7 separate regions of the Homo sapiens genome follow, and regions 1, 2, 3, 4, 6 and 7 are each linked to region 5. The links are contacts of gene promoters, found by promoter capture Hi-C in blood cells and fetal thymus (Javierre and others, 2016). All regions are on one chromosome and are shown on one strand. The core of a region is centred on a gene start or on the middle of the fragment in contact, and the rest is flanking DNA. Distances in the headings are between cores, read along the strand shown.

What was found. Contacts are between HindIII fragments. The CHiCAGO score rates a contact against its expected background, and 5 or more counts as called.
Region 1: a fragment that was not itself captured here is called in contact with the fragment with the promoter of STOM in region 5 in 1 of 17 cell types (non-activated CD4 T cells); the score reaches 6.3 in non-activated CD4 T cells.
Region 2: a contact is called between a fragment that was not itself captured here and the fragment with the promoter of STOM in region 5, in 1 of 17 cell types (neutrophils). The highest score is 7.4, in neutrophils.
Region 3: a contact is called between a fragment that was not itself captured here and the fragment with the promoter of STOM in region 5, in 10 of 17 cell types (total CD4 T cells, naive CD4 T cells, activated CD4 T cells and 7 more). The highest score is 11.9, in total CD4 T cells.
Region 4: a contact is called between a fragment that was not itself captured here and the fragment with the promoter of STOM in region 5, in 2 of 17 cell types (naive B cells and naive CD4 T cells). The highest score is 5.2, in naive B cells.
Region 6: a contact is called between a fragment that was not itself captured here and the fragment with the promoter of STOM in region 5, in 4 of 17 cell types (total CD8 T cells, naive CD4 T cells, neutrophils and 1 more). The highest score is 5.7, in total CD8 T cells.
Region 7: a contact is called between a fragment that was not itself captured here and the fragment with the promoter of STOM in region 5, in 3 of 17 cell types (activated CD4 T cells, neutrophils and naive CD4 T cells). The highest score is 5.8, in activated CD4 T cells.

The regions. Positions count from the first base shown.
Region 1 is chr9:120,789,366-120,792,226 of GRCh38, forward strand. All of the region lies in intron 2 of FBXW2 (F-box and WD repeat domain containing 2), which reads right to left. Among named protein-coding and RNA genes, the nearest start is that of FBXW2, 2.6 kb to the right of the region's middle. The HindIII fragment of the contact is 318 bases long and covers 1,194-1,511 here.
Region 2 is chr9:120,720,208-120,723,057 of GRCh38, forward strand. It overlaps the pseudogene AHCYP2. Among named protein-coding and RNA genes, the nearest start is that of MEGF9, 7.2 kb to the left of the region's middle. The HindIII fragment of the contact is 4,871 bases long and covers 1-2,850 here.
Region 3 is chr9:120,752,747-120,755,662 of GRCh38, forward strand. No RefSeq gene overlaps it. Among named protein-coding and RNA genes, the nearest start is that of FBXW2, 39 kb to the right of the region's middle. The HindIII fragment of the contact is 3,828 bases long and covers 1-2,916 here.
Region 4 is chr9:120,769,101-120,772,186 of GRCh38, forward strand. FBXW2 (F-box and WD repeat domain containing 2) reads right to left here. Exons shown (of 8, transcript NM_012164.4): 7 at 2,248-2,417. Among named protein-coding and RNA genes, the nearest start is that of FBXW2, 23 kb to the right of the region's middle. The HindIII fragment of the contact is 1,723 bases long and covers 746-2,468 here.
Region 5 is chr9:121,368,970-121,372,109 of GRCh38, forward strand. It overlaps STOM (stomatin), which reads right to left and starts at 1,281. Exons shown (of 7, transcript NM_004099.6): 1 at 1,158-1,281. The coding sequence starts at 1,218. LOC102723324 (a long non-coding RNA gene) reads left to right here and starts at 924. Exons shown (of 7, transcript NR_187160.1): 1 at 924-997. RefSeq lists enhancers at 1,286-2,246, 1,706-1,795. The HindIII fragment of the contact is 8,041 bases long and covers 1-3,140 here.
Region 6 is chr9:120,617,177-120,620,060 of GRCh38, forward strand. The region is part of intron 3 of MEGF9 (multiple EGF like domains 9); the gene reads right to left. Among named protein-coding and RNA genes, the nearest start is that of CDK5RAP2, 38 kb to the left of the region's middle. The HindIII fragment of the contact is 2,561 bases long and covers 259-2,819 here.
Region 7 is chr9:120,702,324-120,705,143 of GRCh38, forward strand. All of the region lies in intron 1 of MEGF9 (multiple EGF like domains 9), which reads right to left. Among named protein-coding and RNA genes, the nearest start is that of MEGF9, 11 kb to the right of the region's middle. The HindIII fragment of the contact is 2,993 bases long and covers 48-2,820 here.

The DNA of each region.
Region 1 (2,861 bases), core at 103-2,602, 580 kb before region 5:
AAATAATTTTTTTTAAAGTATCCTGTATTAGTGTCAACAGGTGTTAATTCACTCTTAATGAGGATTAGACTAATGAAAGATTACAAAAAATATAACCAGTAAAAACTATCTTTCTCAAGACTATGTGTTGATAGATGTTAATGCTGGGTGATGTGTACATAGGGATTTATTATTCTCTTTATTTCCATATATTTAAATATTTCCATGGTTTAATAAAAACTTTCCTTCTGAATACTCAGTTTCTCACAAGACTGTCATATTAATTTTAAAAACATATGTCCAAATTAATGTGAAAAAGGAAAGTTAATTTCTTTCCAGACATATCACCTAGATCAGGTCTACACAAAAAGCAAGATCTCATCTTTCAACTTTGATAATGTAAGGTGAGTAAAATTGTAAGTGTCCAATATCAAATTTGGCAATAACATTCTTAGACAAATAAGCAATCTGATTTATTAGTAGAAGCAACCAAACCTTGCAATCACATCATCTGCTAACAGTTTTGATTTCTGGAACTGTGACTAGACTTCAAGATAATACGTTTCAAGCCAAAGTTTGGGCTAGAGAAGATTTATTAATCTGTATTAAAAATTTACCTAGCTGACAAAAAATAATCAGATGGCTAAAAGTTTTATCGACTTATCACGCAATAACAAGCCCCCTCCTTCCTCTAAATCCTAACAACCCTCTTATCTATACAACATTTCTTCAAAATCTCTACTTCTAAAAAATAATAATTTGCAACAAGACAAAGCAATTATCTTCTGTGGGCATCTGCATATTGTCACAATAGCTAGTTAATTAATACTGGTCAATTAAAAACACACACCAGGCTGGGCACAGTGGCTCACGCCTGTAATCACAGCACTTTGTGAGACTGAGGTGGGCTCGGCCGGATCACGAGGTCAGGAGATCGAGATCATCCTGGCTAACACAGTGAAACCCCATCTCTACTAAAAATACAAAAAATTCCCCTGGCATGGTGGTGGGTGCCTGTAGTCCCAGCTAGTCGGGAGGCTGAGGCAGGAGAATGGCGTGAACCCAGGAGGCGGAGCTTGCAGTGAGCCGAGATCACGCCACTGCACTCCAGCCGGGGCGAGAGAGCAAGACTCCATCTCAAAAAAGAAAAAAAAGAAAAAAAACCACACACCTGCTCCTGAAACATTTTTAACAGTGAAAAGTGTGGTGTGGCAAGCTTCCTCCATCACATCTACACATACATATATACACACATACATACACATGCTGACACACATCTATTGTAGAAATGCTTGTATTTAAGTGAGCTGAACTGTTATTCAAACGGCTACAAGGCAAATTTAGAATACTCATTAAAATATTATCAGGTTCCCATCATTCACAAATATCTAAGAGACATACTATAATATGCCAAATTCACATGTATACCTATGTAACAAACCTGCACGTTGTGCACATGTACCCTAGAACTTAAATTTAAAAAAAAAATGCCAAATTAATGTGCCCATGACACCGCTAAAGATTACGGAAGAAGCTTTTTCAGAGAGCACATCTAAAAAAATTCAGCCATGTCTCAGATTTATATATTCTCCTAACTCTTAATAAAAAAAATTTTCCCAACTCTTAGATTGCCTTTTAAACCACTCAATCCCTTGTAAGATTGAGCAGTTCACCTCTGATTATTCTGAAAAAGGCATTTTTTTCCCTAAAAAAGCAAGTCTCACTAACTGCAGAATGCACTATTTAAAAAACACCAATTTTTACTTTTCTGAACAGATCAACTAACTTTGGAGGGGGCCTTCTAAGGTAACAGGTCTAAACTGGACTCTTTTAGGCAGCCTCTAGAAATATCATACACTGGTTGCACAAACCTCAGGAAATGGGATTTCAATTCAACATGAGGAGCTTTTAAATCTCAGCGCTTTCCAACAATGGAATAGCTACCTCCAGAGTAGTGAGTTTCCCATTACCACGAACAGTCAAGGACAGTTGGACACAGAGGCAGAATGTGATAAATGAAAATACTTTGGAGGTTGGCCAGATGTTTTACTGATTCAGCCACTTCCTATGTGATTATGGGCATGTCCAACTAACTTTTAAGCTTCAGTTTTATCATCTGTAAAATGGAAGCCATCATCCAACTTGAAGGGTGAAACTCAGAAATATAGCAGGGACATGCTTAGCACAGTGTACAGTCTAGCGGGTAAAAACTCAAATGGTACTTTTTGTTAGTTTTACTACTATGAACACCTGGCAGTAAAGATTTCTGTGACACTAAGGGTGGAATGGACATGACCACTAACATCTCTTTTGACCCTATCATCTTATCACTAAGTTTCTCTTCAAAATACCTGGAAGAAAAACTCAAGGGCTCAAACTTACTAGGGGTTTAATTTTATAAAGAAGAGCACCTGTTTATTGGAGGCTCTAGTTTCCCAGTAGGTGCCTTATTCTACCCACATTCCCTGCTGTTTGGCCCCCTTACCCTACGTCCCTACCCCAGAGTTAACATTCAACTTGCCCTCTTGCCTTCAGTATCAATAATCACAAAGTGGGTCATGCAACAAAAAGACTCCTAAATTGGAAAATGAGAGCCTGGGTTTGGTCTCAGGTTCTGCCATTAACTCCCTATGTTACCTAGGCAACTCACATATTTATATTGGTTTTAAAGAAAAAGTACCACTGGTAAACATTATCTCATTTCATCTTCATAACCTCATGGAAGGTATCAGTAATGCCGCCCTTAACTAACATTAATGAGGAAATTTACGGCTCAAGAAGTGGAGTGGCCTTCCCAGAATGGCACAGGAAGTAGCAGGCTCAATATTTTGCCCAGTACCCATTCTCCCAAAACCTATACTCAGAGGTATTAGAGACAGGAC
Region 2 (2,850 bases), core at 220-2,719, 650 kb before region 5:
AAAAAAAAAAAAATTACTAAAAATTAGCATGGTGGTATGCAGCTGTAGTCCCAGCTACCTGGGAGGCTGAGGTGGGAGATCACCTGAGCTTGGGAAGTCGAGGCTGCAGTGAGCCATGATCATGCCACTGTACTCCAGCCTGGGCAACAGAGTAAGACCCTGTCCCAAAAAGAGAAAAAAAAAAGAATCTATCCAAAGGAAATAAATAATCAGATGTAAATATGTATGTACAAAAATGTTCACCAGAGTGTTATATAATTACAAAAATTAGAAAAATCTAAACAGTTAACAAAGGATTAGTTGAGTACTTTGTGCTGTATGATGTTTCTATGTAGAAACACTATACATCTATAAAAAATGATACTCACCTGCCTAGCACTGCCTGCCCAACACTGCCCACCCAGTGCCTGTCCCCAGACTATGGCCCAGCCCCCTTTGCCCTTGTCCATCAAAGGTGCCGCCAGCATGTCTGACAAACTGCCCTACAAAGTTGCTGACATCGGCCTGGCCACCTGGGGACACAAGGCCCTAGACATTGTGGAGAATGGATGCCGGGTTTGATGGGCATGCAGGAGCTTTACTCGGCCTCCAGGCCACTGAAGGGTGCCTGCATTGCTGACTGCCTGCAAATAACTGTGGAGACGGCCATCCTCATTGAGACCCTTTTCTCCCTGGGTGTTCAGGAGCAGTGGTCTAGCTGCAGCATCTTCTCCACCCAGGAACATGCAGTGGCTGTCTTTGCCGAGGCTGGCATGCCAGTGTTCACCTGGAAGGGCAAAATGAAAGAGGGGTACCCGTGGTGCATTGAACAGACACTGTACTTCAAGGACGGGCCCCTCAACATGATTCTGGATGATGGGGGTGACCTTACCAACCTCATCCACACCAAGTACGTACCCACAGCTCATGTCGGGCATCTGAGGCATCTCTGAGGAGACCAAAACCGGGGTCCACAACCTACACAAGATGATGGCCAGTGCAATCCTGAAGGTGCCTACCATCAACGTCAATGACTCCGTCACCAAGAGCAAAATTTGACAACCTCTATGGCTGCCAGGAGTCCCTTATAGATGGCACCAAGTGGACCAAGACGTGATGATTGCCAGCAAGGTAGCAGTGGTAGCAGGCTATGGTGGTGTGGGCAAGGGCTGTGCCCAGGCCTTGCAGGGTTTTGGGGCCTGCATAATCATCACCGAGACTGACCCCATCAGTGCACTGCAGGCTGCCATGGAAGGCTATGAGGTGACCACCATGGACGAGGCCTGTCAGGAGGGCAACATCTTTGTCACCACCACAACCTGTGTCAATATCATCCTTGGCCGGCACTTTGAGCAGATGAAGGATGATGCCATCTTATGTAATACTGAACAATTTGACGTGGAGATCGATGTCAGGTGCCTCAACAACAATGCTGTGGAGAAGGCAAACATCAAGCCCAGGCGGACTGGTACTGGCTGAAGAATGGGTGCCACATCATCGTGCTGGCTGAGGGTTGGCTGGTCAACCTGGGCTGTGCTATGGGCCGCCCCAGCTTTGTGGGGAGTAACTCCTTCAACCAGGTGATGGTGCAGATTGCGCTGTGGACCCACCCAGACAAGTACCCCATTGGGGTTCACTTCCTGCCCAAGAAGCTGGATGAGGCAGTGGCTGAGGCGCCCCCCTGGGCAAGATGAACGTGAAATTGACCAAGCTAACTGAGAAGCAAGCCCAGTAGCTGAGCACGTCCCGTGATGGCCCCTTCAAGCCGGATCACTACTGCTGCTGAGAGTCAGGCCTGCCCTTCACTTTCCAGCTGCTGTCCTTGCTCAGGCCCCGCCTCTTCTCCCTAAGAGCAAATGGCACCAACTTTGTGATTGGTTGGTTAGTGTCCCCCATCGATGGGGCTGGTCACTCAGTTTTTGGCCTCTGCTGCATCCCTAACACTATATCAAGTGTGGCGGGGAAATTGAGAGGCCCCTCCTCAAGCCCTGGTCATGATGGAGGTACAAGGGAGGCATCCACAAGGAACCATGAGTTGAGTGGTCTTGGAACTGCTCACTAAGTCAGTCCTTCCTTTTTTTTTTTTTTTTTTTTGGTATTTTTGGTAGAGACGGGGTTTCACCATGTGGGCCAGGATGGTCTCGATCTCTTGCCCTCATGCCTCGGCCTCCCAAAGTGCTGGGATTACAGGCATGAGCCACTGGCGCCCAGTCAGTCCTTCCTTAGTTTGGAAGTTGGTAGTGGAGTCACAAAGCCCATGTACCTTACCATTCAGGTAAGGTTCCTGGTCTGTGGACTTATACCGTGTTCCTGGTCTGTGGACTTATACCCGTGGTTTACAGGTTCAGTGGTTCCCCAGCCCATGACAGATGAGAAGGAGCTATATTGAAAGGCAAAGAGGAACTGTTGTTTGAATTTTCCTGAGAGCCTGGCTTAGGGCTGGGCCTTCTCTTAAACCTCATAACAATGAGGTTGGTACTTTTAGTCCCTGTTTTACAGGGGTCAGAATAGACTGTAAAGGGATAACTGAGAAAGGACAGAGAAGTGACAGCCAGAGGGGCTATAAAAACATAAAAGCAAGCATAGATCTGCTACTACTTTGTAACAAGATGGTTCCTATCACAACCCTGGTTCAAAAAGAGAATAATATGGTTTTAATGTTAAAAGAAAGCAGGAAGGTGGGTAAATAAAAATCTTGGTGCCTGAAAAAAAAAAAAAAAAAAAAAGATGATACTCAAGCACAGTGGCTCATGCCTATAATCCTGACACTTTGGGAGGCCCAGGCGGGTGGATTGCTTGAGCTCAGGAGTTCGAGACCAGCCTGGCAAAATGGTGAAACCCCATCTCTACCAAAAATACAGAAAAATTTGC
Region 3 (2,916 bases), core at 234-2,733, 620 kb before region 5:
TACAAAAATGTTCTTGTGGCAATAGGTATTTCGCCTCAACTACTGTATTCTGGGGCTCATGAAGTTACCTTGTACCTAGCTTTGTTGAAAGTACTGTCTGGGCCCTTGGTTTTGCTATTCAGTTGCTGGGTTTTTTGTTTGTTTGTTTGTTTGTTTGAGACAGAGACGCCCAGGCTGGAGTGCAGTGGCATGATCTCAGCTCACAGCAACCTCCCAAACTCCGCCTCCTGGGTTCAAGCGATTCTTCTGCCTCAACCTCCCGAGTAGCTGGGACTACAGGCGCATACCACCATGCCCGGCTAACTTTTTGTATTTTTAGTAGAGACGGAGTTTCACCGTGTCAGCCAGGATGGTCTTGATCTTCTGACCTCGTGATCCGCCCGCCTCGGCCTCCCAAAGTGCTGGGATTACAGGCGTGAGCCACCGCGCCTGGCCTAGTTGCTGTTCTTTGTGTGGATTTGAAGAGATTAAAAACCAGGCTGGCACCACCACCAACCTGCTCATTTTGTGTTTTCAGTTGTTTAATGATTTTTGCCTTCAAGTTCTAGCAGTGTCTTCTGTGTTCCTATATTTAATAAAGACCCGATGAGTGATACAGTTCCACCAACCATGCATCTAGGTTAGCAACCTAGAGCCAGCAAACAAAGAGTATCAGTTTATAGAAAGTCTGTATCTAGAATCCTTCTACTAGCTTACAAATCTCTTGGAGAGTTACTTCCTCTATGGAACCTTGGTTATCACCCTTAAGTAGAACTTCTTCCTTCTTGGTGCTTCCTTCATGACACCTCTTGGGTTTTGTGTGTGTACTATCCTAGGGAACCTGAGCTCCCAGAAACAGTGACCATACACGATTAATCTACATATCCCCAGGCTCCAGCACGATGCCTGATACAGAGTAGAAACCTCATACGTGTTTCCTGAAAGAGGGAGTTTGAGCTAAAAGATGCCTGCAGCTGTATTATATAACTAAAAAAAAATTAATTATTCTTAAAAAAACTCATGCTCGGCCGGGCGCGGTGGCTCAAGCCTGTAATGCCAGCACTTTGGGAGGCCGAGGTGGGCAGATCACGAGGTCAGGAGATCGACACCATCCTAGCTAACACGGTGAAACCCCATCTCTACTAAAAATACAAAAAATTAGCCGGGTGCAGTGGCAGGTGCCTGTAGTCCCAGCTACTCAGGAGGCTAAGGCAGGAGAATGGCGTGAACCCAGGAGACGGAGTTTGCAGTGAGCCAAGATCGTGCCACTACACTGCAGCCTGGGCGACAGAGCAAGACTCCGTCTCAAAAAAAAAACAAAAAACAAAAACAACAACAACAAAAACTCATGCTCACTGTGGGAAACTTAGAAAATACAAAAATAAGCAAATAGAAAATATTTTTCTCATTCTTTTTTTTTTGAGATGGAGTCTCACTCTGTCGCCCAGGCTGGAGTGCAGTGGCTTAATCTCCGCTCACTGCAACCTCCGCCTCCTGGGTTCAAGCGATTCTCCTGCCTCAGCCTCCCGAGTAGCTGGGACTACAGGTGCGTGCCACCACGCCCGGCTAATTTTTGTATTTTTAGTAGAGATGGGGTTTCACCATGTTGGCCATGCTGGTCTTAAACTCCTGACCTCAGGTGATCCACCTGCCTCGGCCTCCCAAAATGCTGGGATTACAGGCATGAGCCACTACACCCAGCAGACGTGCATGTATCTTTATGGTAGAACGATTTATATTCCTTTGGGCATATACCCAGTAGTGGGATTCCTGGGTTGAATGGCAGTTCTGGTTTTTAAGCTCTTTGAAGAATCACCACACTGCTTTCCACAATGGTTGAACTAATTTACACTCCCACCAACAGTGTATATGTGTTCCCTTTTCTCTACCTCTCCAAAGTTCATTCTTTTTTTTCTTTGATACGACAAAGTCTCACTGTGTTGCCCAGGCAAGAGTGCAGTGGCGTGATCTCGGCTCACTGTAACCTCTGCCTCCCAGGTTCAAGCTATTCTCCTGACTCAGCCTCCCAAGTAACGAGGATTACAGGCACCTGCTACCATGCCCAGCTAATTTTTTTTTCGTATTTTTAGTAGAGACGGAGTTTCACCATGTTAGCCAGGCTGGTGTCAAACTCCTGACCTCAGGTGATCCACCTGCCTCTGTCTCCCAAAGTGTTGGGATTATAGGCGTAAGCCACCAGGCCCGGTCAAAAAAAAATTTTTTTTTTTTTTTTTTTTTTTTTGAGACAGAGTCCTGCTCTGTCTCCCAGGCTGCAGTGCAGTAGCATAATCATGGCTCACTGCAACATATGCCTTCTTGGCTCAAGCAATTCTCCCACCTTAGCCTCCCAAATGGCTGGGACTATGGGCGCATGCCACCACGTCTGGCTAATTTTTGTATTTTCTGTAGAGATGGGGTTTCACCCTCTTACCCAGGCTGGTGTCAAACTCCTGGGCTCAAGCAATCCACCAGCCTCAGACTCCTAGAGTCCTGAGATTACAGGCCTGAGTCACTGCACCTGGCCATGTTATTTTTTGACTTTTTAATAGCTATTCTGACTGGTGTGAGATGGTATCTCACTGTGGTTTTGATTTGCATTTCTCTAATGATCAGTTATTGAGCTTTTTTAAATATGCTTTCTTTGGACACACACATGTCTTCTTTTGAAAAGTGTTCATGTCCTTTGCCCACTTTTTAATGGTTTTTTTTTCTTGTAGACTTGCTTAGGATCCTTACAGATGCTGAATATTAGACCTTTGTCAGATACATAGTTTGCAAATATTTTCTCCCATTCTGTAGATTGTCTATTTACTCTGTTGACAGTTCCTTCTGCTGCCTACTGATGTCTTAGCATGACATGCCCTATGATAACTGGAAATAAAGTAGAAGGCAAGTACAGTATTAGAACACATTTAGGCTGGGTGCGGTGGCTCACTC
Region 4 (3,086 bases), core at 357-2,856, 600 kb before region 5:
CATGCTGTAGAGATAACCTAACTCAAGCAATCACATCATATCTCAGACTTATTGAGTAACATGCTGTTATTTGTGCTTTGCTTCTTTTCAATTAGCTTCAAAGCTAAGTAGCCCTACCTGGTCCTAGCAACTGAAGCCAGAGGATTTGTAGTAGGTTTCAACAGAGGTTGGTTTATCTGTGTTTGGGAGGAAAAAAGCAGACACAAGACAGACTCTTTTCGGAGAAAAAATCTGAACCTGGCAACTCCTACCCGCAAACAATCTTACAGGTTTATTATTTAAAACTATTATTCAAACACTAAAAACTAGCAACTTTCATCTAGGACTCTAGAGTCTCTATATGCCACTCTGAGTCACAAGCATACATGAGAAAGCAGATGTGGGACCAAATTAAACCCTTTAGAGATGCTAAGCATTAAAACAACTATGACATCTCTAGCCCACCTTGCCTTTGCACCTTCCCACCTAAAATTTTAATTCAAAACAAAAACAATATTGAACTATAAAAGATGTGATTTTCCCATGGTGATTACTTGAATATTTTGCTTTACAAAATATCAGATTCTTTCAAAACTTTATTTTCCCCTGTTTTTGGTGTCCCTGGCTTTCTAGTACCATAAGTATATACCTATTGGATAATCCAGCCATGCATGAATGGACGAATGTTGGAATACAGTGAGAGGTGGAATGCTGGGCAAGGCCCCTACCCTGTCTCAGCTTCAGTTTCCCTACCTACAAGAGGAAAAGCTTAAACAGATGTTTTCTAGGAAAGGTTTCAGTCTTTTTTCTCAAAGCATAAATATCAATCATTTCTATAACTGATTCTGACAGCTCTGAAACCTAACTGGTTAGAAATGTTGGTCTGATTCCAGGAAGACATAAATGGGGTTGTAACTTTGTGATCAGAGAGATGTGGCCCACCAAAGTTTTGTGGTTATTGTGATCAGATCCACACGAGCTGACCTCAAATAGTCATGCATAAAAACAATGAAGAGGCCGGGTGCGGTGGCTCACGCATGTAATCCCAGCACTTTGGGAGGCCGAGGCGGGTGGATCACGAGGTCAGGAGATTGAGTCCATCCTGCCTAGCACAGTGAAACCCCGTCTCTACTAAAAATACAAAAAATTAGCCGGGCATGGTGGCGGGCGCCTGTAGTCCCAGCTACTCGGGAGGCTGGGACAGGAGAATGGTGTGAACCCTGGAGGCGGAGCCTGCAGTGAGCAGAGATTGTGCCACTGCACTCCAGCCTGGGCGACAGAGCGAGACTCCATCTCAAAAAAAAAAAAAAAAACAATGAAGAGAATGTTCAATTTTCTGTACTCCTCCAAGTCCTGAACCATGCTATGGGACGCTAACTTTTTGAGTTGTTATTAATAAGTGTGTGCACAACAGGTGTGAAGTACAGTAGGTTCAACAAATTCAAACAGGTTTCTTTACATGGGTCCTCTCAGACTTATTATTAATAAAGATCTGCCAGGTGGTATACTAGGTCCTCATCACAAGCATTTCATTTAATAGTCACTTTATAGATGATGAAATTGAGCTACAGAGGAGTTAAGAAACTTATACTAAATCACACAGCCCATTAGAGATGGCACCACATCTTAAACCAAGGTTTGTCTATCACCAAAGTTCTCTTAATGACCACATGGCACTGGCTTCCATCAGCCCCAAATATGCTAACAGATACTGTCCTTCTCCAAGAAGAGCCTATGGTATGCAGTGAATCACAAAATTATTTGTCTATGGACTGCTGCTTATTTACTTCTTTGGAGGGAAACCCTGCAAATTTTATTTTTCTCTAAGTCTCTGTCTTTCTACTAGTCAACAGAAGGTCACTTGATCCCTAGATACCACTAAAGTTTACCAAGTTTGTAAAACAATGCAGAATTTCAACAGAATATGAAATAGGACTTAAAATATTAGAACTTATGGAGATCTGAAAGATCTTTTCATCCATGCCCCTCATTTTCCAGAAAAGCATGTTAAATCTGAAAGAAGTGGCTCATGACTCACAGTCAGGCAGCGGACGTTCCAGTACGTAACTCTTTTTCATTTGCTTACTTCCTCTAAAATATTTTTCCTGTCTGAGATGTTCAGTATATATAACCCTGTTTACAAGTGATACAGTATACATTTCCTAAAAGCCAGCTACTGACTGGTACATCCAAACATTTAGTCTTGTCTTTACTACTGAACTGCAGCAGGCTTTCAAAGGTAAAGCGTGAGGTCGAAGGAAACATTACCTGAGAATATCATAACTGGCAAAGTCCCACTGGTAGAGACCAAGTGCTGAACTACAGACAATGTATTTGCCATCAAAATGAAGTCTTGGCTGCAGGCAGATACTTCTATCCTCAGAGACAGACAATGTCTTTAAGCACTTACAGTTGATTTCTCTCCCAATTGGCCAAATCTACAGAAAAAAGAAAATGAGGAAAGATGAGAGATCACATCACTACAGAAAAGCTTGTCCTTAAAATGGTCTGCATTTGTGAAGTCAGATAGAAAGTGAAGTATACTGGAAAGACCCCAGGTTTTATAGCCAAGAATCACAGGTTCAAGTCTTAATTCTCCTGTGCAATCTTGGGTAAATTATTTAATCTCTCTTAACTCCAGCTCCTGCAATGAAGATAATGCCTATCACACGGGACAGTATAAAAGATCCAATAATGGGCCAGGCACGGTGGCTCGCGCCTGTAATCCCAGCACTTTGGGAGGCCTAGGCAGGTGGATCACCTGAGGTCAGGAGTTCAAGACCAGCCTGGCCAACATGGTGAAACCCTGTCTCTACTAAAAATACAAAAATTAGCCAGGCGTGATAGCACACGCCTGTAATCCCAGCTACTTGGGAGGCTGAAGCACGAGCATCACTTGAACCTGGGAGGCAGAGGTTGCAGTAAGCAAAGATTCTACCACTGCACTCCAGCCTGGGTGACAGAGTGAGACCCTGTCTCAGAAAAAAAAAAAAAAAAAAAAAAAGAGATGCAGTAAGAATGTGAGAGTACTTTGTGAACTCTTTGCAATTCATTACAATAAATATTTATGTTTTCATAGTTCAGATCTAAGAATTAAGGACGGTAGG
Region 5 (3,140 bases), core at 31-2,530:
TTAGTTTCAATTTTTGTTGTTGTGGTTGCCATTATTCTCATCAACTCCTCCCTGTTACACTCTCCATTTGGGAAGATAACCTGCAACGTTATTAGTAGACAAAAAGTGAGGAATAAAGATTTCTGTAATTCCTTTGATGCTCCTGGGAAGGAACTGAACACAGGGATCCCTGGACAAGGGAAATGGAACTTATAGCTAAGATGCTGTGGATAAAGCTGGCTTTACAAATAATCAGAATAGATGACTCCAATGTCATGTTCTTTGAGGGGTCCTGGAAAGGACCACCCAGCCCTCTAAATTGCTTTCACTGCCATCCTGCCTGAAATTCCATCTTTAGAAACACTGTAATTCCTCTGGATCACTAAGAGCTCCTGAGTGGGTACCAGGACTCCTGAGAGGTCCACCATCTCTCTTTATTGGAACCCCCTCCCCAGAGTACCAGTTCCTCCACAGGGGAACGAGACTGAGCCACTTACAGCTCCTGCCTTGAAGACTGGGAAGGGAGGGTGGGGGTGAGGGTGGGAGAACTCAGGGTTCCTGGCGAGGAACAAAAGCCGGGAAGGAGAGTTCTCCAAAACGCAGAGGAAAGCGGAGGGGGAAAAATGGGGCAGAAAGTGGAGCTAGAAAGAGAGGTAAGAAGAAAGCCAGAGAGACTTCTTCCTTCTGCAAATCGGTCTAAGTTTCGGGAGGTGGGATTGGGGGAGGAGGGGGTTCACCCTGGGGCCAGGCCAGGGCTGGGTGGAGGAGGCGGCCTTCGAGAGAGTGAGTCGGGAAAGAAGGGGAGTGGGCAAAGGGTGAGATGTGGGGTCCCGGTCCCCGCCTCGCTGGCTGCCAGTTCCCTCTGCGTTTCCTAGTCCGCGTGCGTGACACGAGATAGTGCAGCCCTGGCATGGGGCTTGGCATCTGGCGGCCGCGAGATAACCAGGGCCCGTGCGATGGGAAACGTGCCGTTGGCAGCCCGCCACCCCTCCATCGTGACCTCAGTCTGCCAAACAGGGTTCGTGATGCTCAGTTTACTAGGGAGGAGCCGCGGCTTTGAGATCTCGCCCAGCCCGAAGCAGCGGAGACTGGCCAGGAGCCCGGCTGTCAGACCTCGGAGCGCACGCTGCGGGCGGGGGCTCGGTCCACGGGGGAGGGTCAGGGGACGCGGGACTCACCCTTGAAGGAGTCGGGGAGCCGCTGGGCTTCGGAGTCCCGTGTGTGCCGCTTCTCGGCCATGCTGCCCGAGACGCAGTCGCACTCCCCCGTCCTCGTTGCCAAACCCGGAGCCGCCGGGAATGCCCTGAGGAGCCAGAGGCACAAGACCCAGATTGCCGCCCCGCCCCCAATCGAGGTCCCGCCCTCGTGAGAGTTGGCCAATCAACGCCCAGGATCGAGGAGGACCCACCTCCCAATCCCCGCCCTCCTGTCCCTCCACGGCGCGACTGCTTCGCAGTCACTTCCCGCTAGTTCTGTGGGCTGAGGGGCGTGGCCTGAGGGGCGTGGCCTGAGGGGCGAGAGCCCCCAAGGCTGTGGGTATGAGGCCGGGGCCCTGCACCGGAAGGGAGGGCGGAAGCCACGGGACGTGGAGCAGATGGTGAGGATAGTGGGGAGGTAGCAGCAGAGGATGACCCGAGGCAAAAGTGCAAGTGAAGAAAAGTCGCCTTGCCGGGCAGAGGTACGGGACCAAGGCGCCTCCTCTGGGCTGAGGAGTTAGAGGGAAGAAAATGGCGCCCTGTCATGAGGGCGCGAGGTCCGAGTTGAGGGGAGAAGACTGAGGGACACAGAAGTGGCCGAAGTGAGGGCGCTGAGGTCAGCCTGAGCTGAGAGGGCCGGCAGATCACGCCGCAGCCGAAGTGAACGAACTCGAGTGAGGTGTGTTAAGAAAATCAAAATGTATAAATTTGGAAAAGGAGAGGAGGCCGGGCGCGGTGGCTCACGCCTGTAATCCCAGCACGTTGGAAGGCCGAGGCGGGTAGATCATCTGAGGTTAGAAGTTCGAGACCAGCTTGGCCAACATGGTGAAACCCCGTCTCTGCTAAAAATACAAAAATTAGCCGGGCGTGTGGCGCGCGCCTGTAATCCCAGCTACTTGGGAGGCTGAGGCAGGAGAATCGCTTGAACTTGGGAGGCAGAGGTTGCAGTGAGCCGAGATGGCCTGGGTGACAGAGCGAGACTCCGTCTCAAAAAAACAAAACAAAAAACAAAAAAACAGGAGAGGAGACTTTATTTCTTGTAAGGGGTTACAGCCTGCAAGGTGGCCATTCCGCAGGCTGGAGAATGGCCAGGACCAGAGACAGGCATTTCGTTGGAGGAGGGGTTGGAGTAGCGGCTTTATGCTGAACAGCTTGGGTAGACATGCATATTCAGCAGGTGACAGGAGGAGCTATGAATATTCATGAGGGTGGTCCTGACGCATGCCCATTGAGCAAACATGCATGTAACATACAACCCATGTTCATTTTGGAGTGAAGAGTTACCAATTAAATGTTAAATGCCTGGCCTGCATGGTGACGTCCCCATCTCTACAAAAAGTAAAAAAAAAATAGCCAGGTGGGGTGGTGTGTGCTTGCGGTCCCAACTAGTCAGGAGGCTGGGGCAGGAGGATCACTTGAGCCCAAGAGTTGGAGGCTGCAGTGATGTATGATCAGATCACTGCACTCCAGCCTGATGGACTCTAAAAAATAATAACAATACATGTATTACAGTTAGACCCCATGCGTCAAAAGGTCTTTTCAGGACAGGAAGGTGTGCAAGTATGCAGTCTGTGTAAACTAGCCAGAGCCAGTCCATGGTCGGTAGTTTTCCTATGAGGAGAAAGTTACTGAAATCAGCCTCTTGTCCAATTAAAGCTGTAATGATGGCTGGTGGAATAGGGGTTCCATTAGGCCACATCTGGTGGAGCTGCAAATTGTTTTAATATTGCTTATCTCGAGGCCAGTGCTTGTTAAGCTGCTAGAGAAAGAGAACAACCTTGTGGCAGTTAGAACACAGTTTATTCTCTAAGTGAAGGGATGTGTGCCTTAACCTTTGCCTGGCATGACCTTAGGTATAATTTGTTTATAATTTGGTATCTTATTGTCACAAACAGTCTGTTCTGTCAGTCTTATGATCTGTGTTTTAACGTTAATGCTGGTCAGCTGTTGTGTCTAAACTCCAAT
Region 6 (2,884 bases), core at 289-2,788, 750 kb before region 5:
CTCCTTGACTAAGCATCTCAAAAATCTTTGTAGAGATAACCAAGAAAATAAATAGTCAAAGAAAGGAATGTAGGGCTCCTTTCCAGCCAAATTCAGGGACAAAACATTGAAAACATACATTGTTACCTGCAAAAAGACCTTTCCTTATTCCTTTATTTATTTTACCATTTCATCATTTATATATAAACCTATCTGAAATACAGTAATGTGCTTTGTTGTAGGAAGAAATGCCTTACCCTCTTTATAGAACAAAAGGCAAGCTTTAACCTGTCAAACTGAAAGAAGGCCAGTATGGAGCCCAGGTTAACAAGGGAGAGAGTAACAGGGCATAAGGTCAGAGAGAAAGGCAGGGCCCAGAAAATGTAAAACCAGATAGGCCATAGAGAGATGTTTGAATTTTATTTATTCCAAAAGGGATGAGAAGCCATTGGAGGGCTTAAGCATGAAAATGACATGATCTGGTTTTACATTTTAAAAAGATTGCTCTGGTTGTTATGTGGAGACTAACTGTGGTGGGGTGGGGATCAGAGAATAGGGAGAGAAGAGAGGAGGCTGAAAGGCCAGATGAGACTGTGCCAAAGTAGTTCAAAGAGATGACAGTGGCTTGGGCAAGGATGATGCAATAAAAGTCATGAACAGTGGTCAGATTCAGGGTATGTTTTGAAGATAGGGCTGATGGAATATACTGATGAGCTGGATATTTGCAGTAATAAAAAGGAGCAAAATCAAAAATGACTACTAGGCTTTGGGACTGAGTAACTTGGTGAAATGAATAGAGCAGGCTTAACTTATAAGTTGAAAAAAAAGTTGTTTTGGATGTGTTAGGTATATAATGCCAATTAAAACAAGTGGATATTTGACAGTTGGATATTTGAGTGTGGAGATCAACGGAGAAATGCAAATCTGATAATAAGCACATATATAGATGGCATTTAAATTAAATCCAGGGTTAAGGGGGAAAATGAGCTAAAACAAACAAACAAATACAAATTAAATCCAGGGGACTGAATGAGACCACTTAGGGAGAAAGTTTAAATGGCAAAGACAAACTTGACAAGCTCTGAGCCCTGAGGCACTCCAGTGCTTGGAGCTGAACTGAGGAAGATGTAGTAGAACAAATAAGAAGGAAAAGCTGGTTAGGTAGCACAAAAACTAGGAAAGCATGATACTCTGAAGTAAGTATCATTGGGGAGTAGAGGATTGGTCAACTCAGTCAAGCTGCTCAGGTCAAGTTACTCATCATGGGACACTATGAATACATAAAGGTACACTGGATTTTCAAAGGAAGTATATTATATGAACATGAAGTTCCAGTTTTAAAAATAATATCCCCCCACTTCCATTTTAAGGGAAACGTGCTTAATAAAGAAAATCTAGAAAAATACAGGAGTAGAAAGGGGTAAAAAATCATCCTAGGAAATCTCTCATTAAGATTTTTAGGCTGGGCTCCGTGGCTCAAGTCTGTAATCCCAGGACTTTGGGAGGCCGAGATGGGTGGATCACCTAATGTCAGGAGTTCAAGATCAGCCTGGCCACCATGGTGAAACCCCGTGTCTACTAAAAATACAAAAATTAGCTGGGCGTGTGATGGTGGGCGCCTGTAATCCCAGCTACTTGGGAGGCTGAAGCAGAAGAATCGCTTGAACCCGGGAGCCAGAGGTTGCAGTGAGCCGAGATCGTGCCATGTACTCCAGCCTGGTGACAGAGCAAGACTCGGTCTCAAAAAAAAAAAAAAGATTTTTAGTACTTCTCTTTGTAATCTTTCCTCATTTACAGGGGTTTGGCTTTTGTTTTTTAACTAGTCTAATTATATGGCATAAGTTATTTTATACCTTGCTTCTTTCACTTTCTCATATTGCTATATATCATTCTTTAAAACATTTTATCAGCCAGGCACAGTGGCTCACATCTGTAATCCCACCACTTTAGGAGGCCGAGGCAGGCGGATCACCTGAGGTCAGGAGTTCGAGACCAGCCTGCCCAACATGGCAAAACCCCGTCTCTACTAAAAATACAAAAAATTAGCCGGGCGTGGTGGTGGGCGCCTGTAATCCCAGCTACTTGGGAGGCTGAGGCAGGAGAATCGCTTGAACCCAGGAGGTGGAGGTTGCAGTGAGCCGAGATCGCGCCACCATACTCCAGCCTGGGCAACAAGGGTGAAACTCTGTTTCAGAAAAAACAAAACAAAACAAAACATTTTATCGAGAACATAGTAACAGTTACCATTTACTGATTACTTGTGATGGACCAGGCACTATATAAAGGCTGTACAAGTGTATTGCATTTAATCTTCACGACAACCCACTAGGCAGTTACTGCTATTATATCAAATTTATAGATGAAGAAACAGATTAAGCAACTTGCTCAAGGTAAGGTCAACATTTGGTTTTCTGTGTTTTTAATAATATACTGCCTAGATAACAGTATTTACTTAATACCCTATTGTGAGAAATTGGGTTGCCTAACTTTTTAAAATTGTAACTACCATTTTGGTGAGCATCTCTGAATATAACCTTCTTAAGAATTTAGAATTCTTTCCTTAGAATAGATTCCTGGAAATAGAACTACCAGATCAAAGAACAATTTTTAAGATTTCTAATACTTACTGTCAAATTGCTTTCCAAAATGTTTATCCAAATATATCTTACCACAAAAAAAGAGTACTTTGAAAATCTACTTCAATCTAAAACACAAGGTATAGCAAAACAGTAGAGGGGGTGAAAATAGGACTGTGAAAACACAGTAAGTGGCCACCAGAGGGCAACCTTATCACAGCACTGTTGAAAATAAAGTCACTTGACGAGAGTGGTTTTATATAAAGCTTGTAATTTTAAATACAGTATTTGCACTCCTTCACGTTGGATTCCACTTTTATTATAATTCC
Region 7 (2,820 bases), core at 294-2,793, 670 kb before region 5:
CTGGGTAATATCATCTGACTTGATCTTATATAAGTAAAGACTTACCAAGCTTATCAGAACTTTTTATTCATTTTTAAATGTTATTCATTTATTTTTAAGACTATAAAATTAGAATTGGATATAGTCACGAAAAAACTTTAAAAATTCAGAAAAACACAAAGAAGGTAATTAAAATTACCCATAATCCCATTACTTAGGTTTAACTAATTAATATTTTGGTATATTTCTCTCCTCATATGTATATTGCTGCTTAATATAATGTAAACATTTTAATGTAAGTTCATAAATTACCAAATTTCTTTATCATAAAATGTTAGAGTAGGAGAATTCCTCTTTCAAAAATCTTTACTGAAAGGACAAATCCAAAATATAAGCCAAATGAAAGAAGAGCTGATGTAAGTGGGGGTGGTGATGTGGAGGTGAGAGGTGAGAGTTGGGTGTGAAAGGTCCAGAAGTAGACCTGTTGGCCTCTCCAGTCCCTATAATGGCTCCCAAACACATCTGAGGAACCCTGGGTCCCCAAATAATACTGTTTAAAAATCACAAATCTAGTCTAACTCATTTAACAGATAAAACTACTTGCTTTTACTAGACAGATAACTAGTAAAAGAACTAATGAAAGAACTTAGGATCCCACATCTTACAGACAAGTGCTCAGCTTCTGCAACTTAGCTACCCTTTCTACAAAAGTCATCAAATGTTCATTTGTCCATTGTTGTTCTTCCTTTAAGAAAAATACAAGGGAAAATGTTACAAACAAAAAATGAATCATTAATATAATAAGCTGGATCTCAAGGAGTTCCACTTGTCCTAAGCAGGTTCTCAAACTATTCCTCATATTACTATGAGTGAGAGAAACATTGATTTCTAAACTAAAAAGAAAGGCATGATTACATTATTTTCCTCAAGAATACAATGCATGTCTAGTATACCTACAAACTGTTCCTTCTTTTTCACTAATTCAATCACTAAATATTTATTAAGAATCTATCTGGGCTGGACAGCAGAGGTATAACTGTGAACAAAACAAATGGAAGTCCTGCCCTCATGGAGTCTGTAAGCCTGACAGGCTTGAGCAAACTACTTTAACTTTCTGAATCCCAGTGTTTGCCAGTCATAAAGTAAGGTTAATAAGATTTAACTACTGCATTGTTTAAGAATTAAATGACACGATGTACGTAAAAAAATCCTTATAGGTAATCAGGCATATAATATGTGCTCAGTTAATATTAGTTACCTTCCCTGCCAAAGTGTTAAATATCAGATTAAAAATGAAAGGTAACAGTGTAAGTCTCTTTGCTATTAAAACAATGATTTGAAGTAGTACAACTGAAATAGCAGGTTAAGATAATTCCAAAGAGATTCTGGGCCAGGTGCAGTGGCTCATGCCTGTAATCCCAGCACTTTGGGAGGCTGAGACGGGTGGATCACCTAAGGTCAGGAGGTTGAGACCAGCCTAACCAATATGGTGAAACCCTGTCTCTACTGAAAATACAAAAATTAGCTGGGTGTGGTGGTGGGTGCCTGTAATCCCAGCTACTTGGGAGGCTGAGGCAGGAGAATCACTTCAACCTAAGAGGCAGAGGTTGCAGTGAGCCAAGATGGCACCACTGCACTCCAGCCTGGGAGACAGAGTGAGACTCTATCTCAAAAAAAAAAAAGATAATGCCAAAGAGATTCTTACACTAGGAAAGAAGTAAATATTTCAATACGAAGAAATGAAATTGAGGTTGGGCGCGGTGGCTCACACCTGTAATCCCAGCACTTTGGGAGGCCAAGGCGGGCGGATCACTTGAGGTCAGAAGTTCAAGACCAACCTGGCCAACATGGCAAAACCCCACCTCTTCTAAAAATATAAAAATTAGCTGGGCATGGTGGCAGGCACCTGTAATCCCAGCTACTCGGGAGGCTGAGGCAGGAGAACTGCTAGAACCTATGAGGCAGAGGTTGCAGTGAGCTGAGAATCCGCCACTGCATCCCAGCCTGGGCGACAGAGCGAGACTGTGTCTCAAAAAAAAAAAAAAGAGATGAAATTCACATGAGCCCTCACAGTCAAGTTCTGTGATTCACCTTGTTATCTCCATGACCATTTACTTTCAGTTACTTCTGGGCTCTTTCCACAACATTCAGCCCTGTATAGTGTCTAGGAAAGAAAATATAAAGCAAACAGTCCTCTTCTCCAAATACCATTTATTCATCATATAAATATGGGCAGCTAAACAAGACAAGATTTACACTTAACAAAATAAACTTAAAAGACAATGGTTTAAAATACAAAATATCAAATCTGAAACCCAACAAAACCTATAAAGGTTTGATCAATATTCACCAATAAAAGTACAGAGGACATAAGCCTTTTTCATTCATATAATATGCAGAAATCAACAAAATGTGAATTGCAAGGTCTTAGACATTCTAAGAGCACCTTGTAAGCCATAATGCACTGCACACTTGTTAATTGCTAATATTAAAAGCACTCTGTTCACTATTAACTTTAATTATATTTCTAATGGGGAAATTCTGTCATTCAAAAGATCAAACATTTGTTTCTTAACGAAATTAATTATATACTGGTATGCATCTCAAAACCACCTACCAACAAAAACAGGTCATGTTATTCATAAATAGGAAAATAAATTTGCTACTTATTCAAAGTTCTTGATTTTTTTTTAGAGCCAGATAACTTCTATTATGAAAGTTTTTTCTTTATTGTTCCTCAGAAGAAGGTGGCAGGGGGTAGGTGGGGCATAAGTTGGACAATAAAGAAGACCCCAGTGGAAAAAGAAAATCTTTTCTCCATTTTTTTTCAAAAAGAGAGAA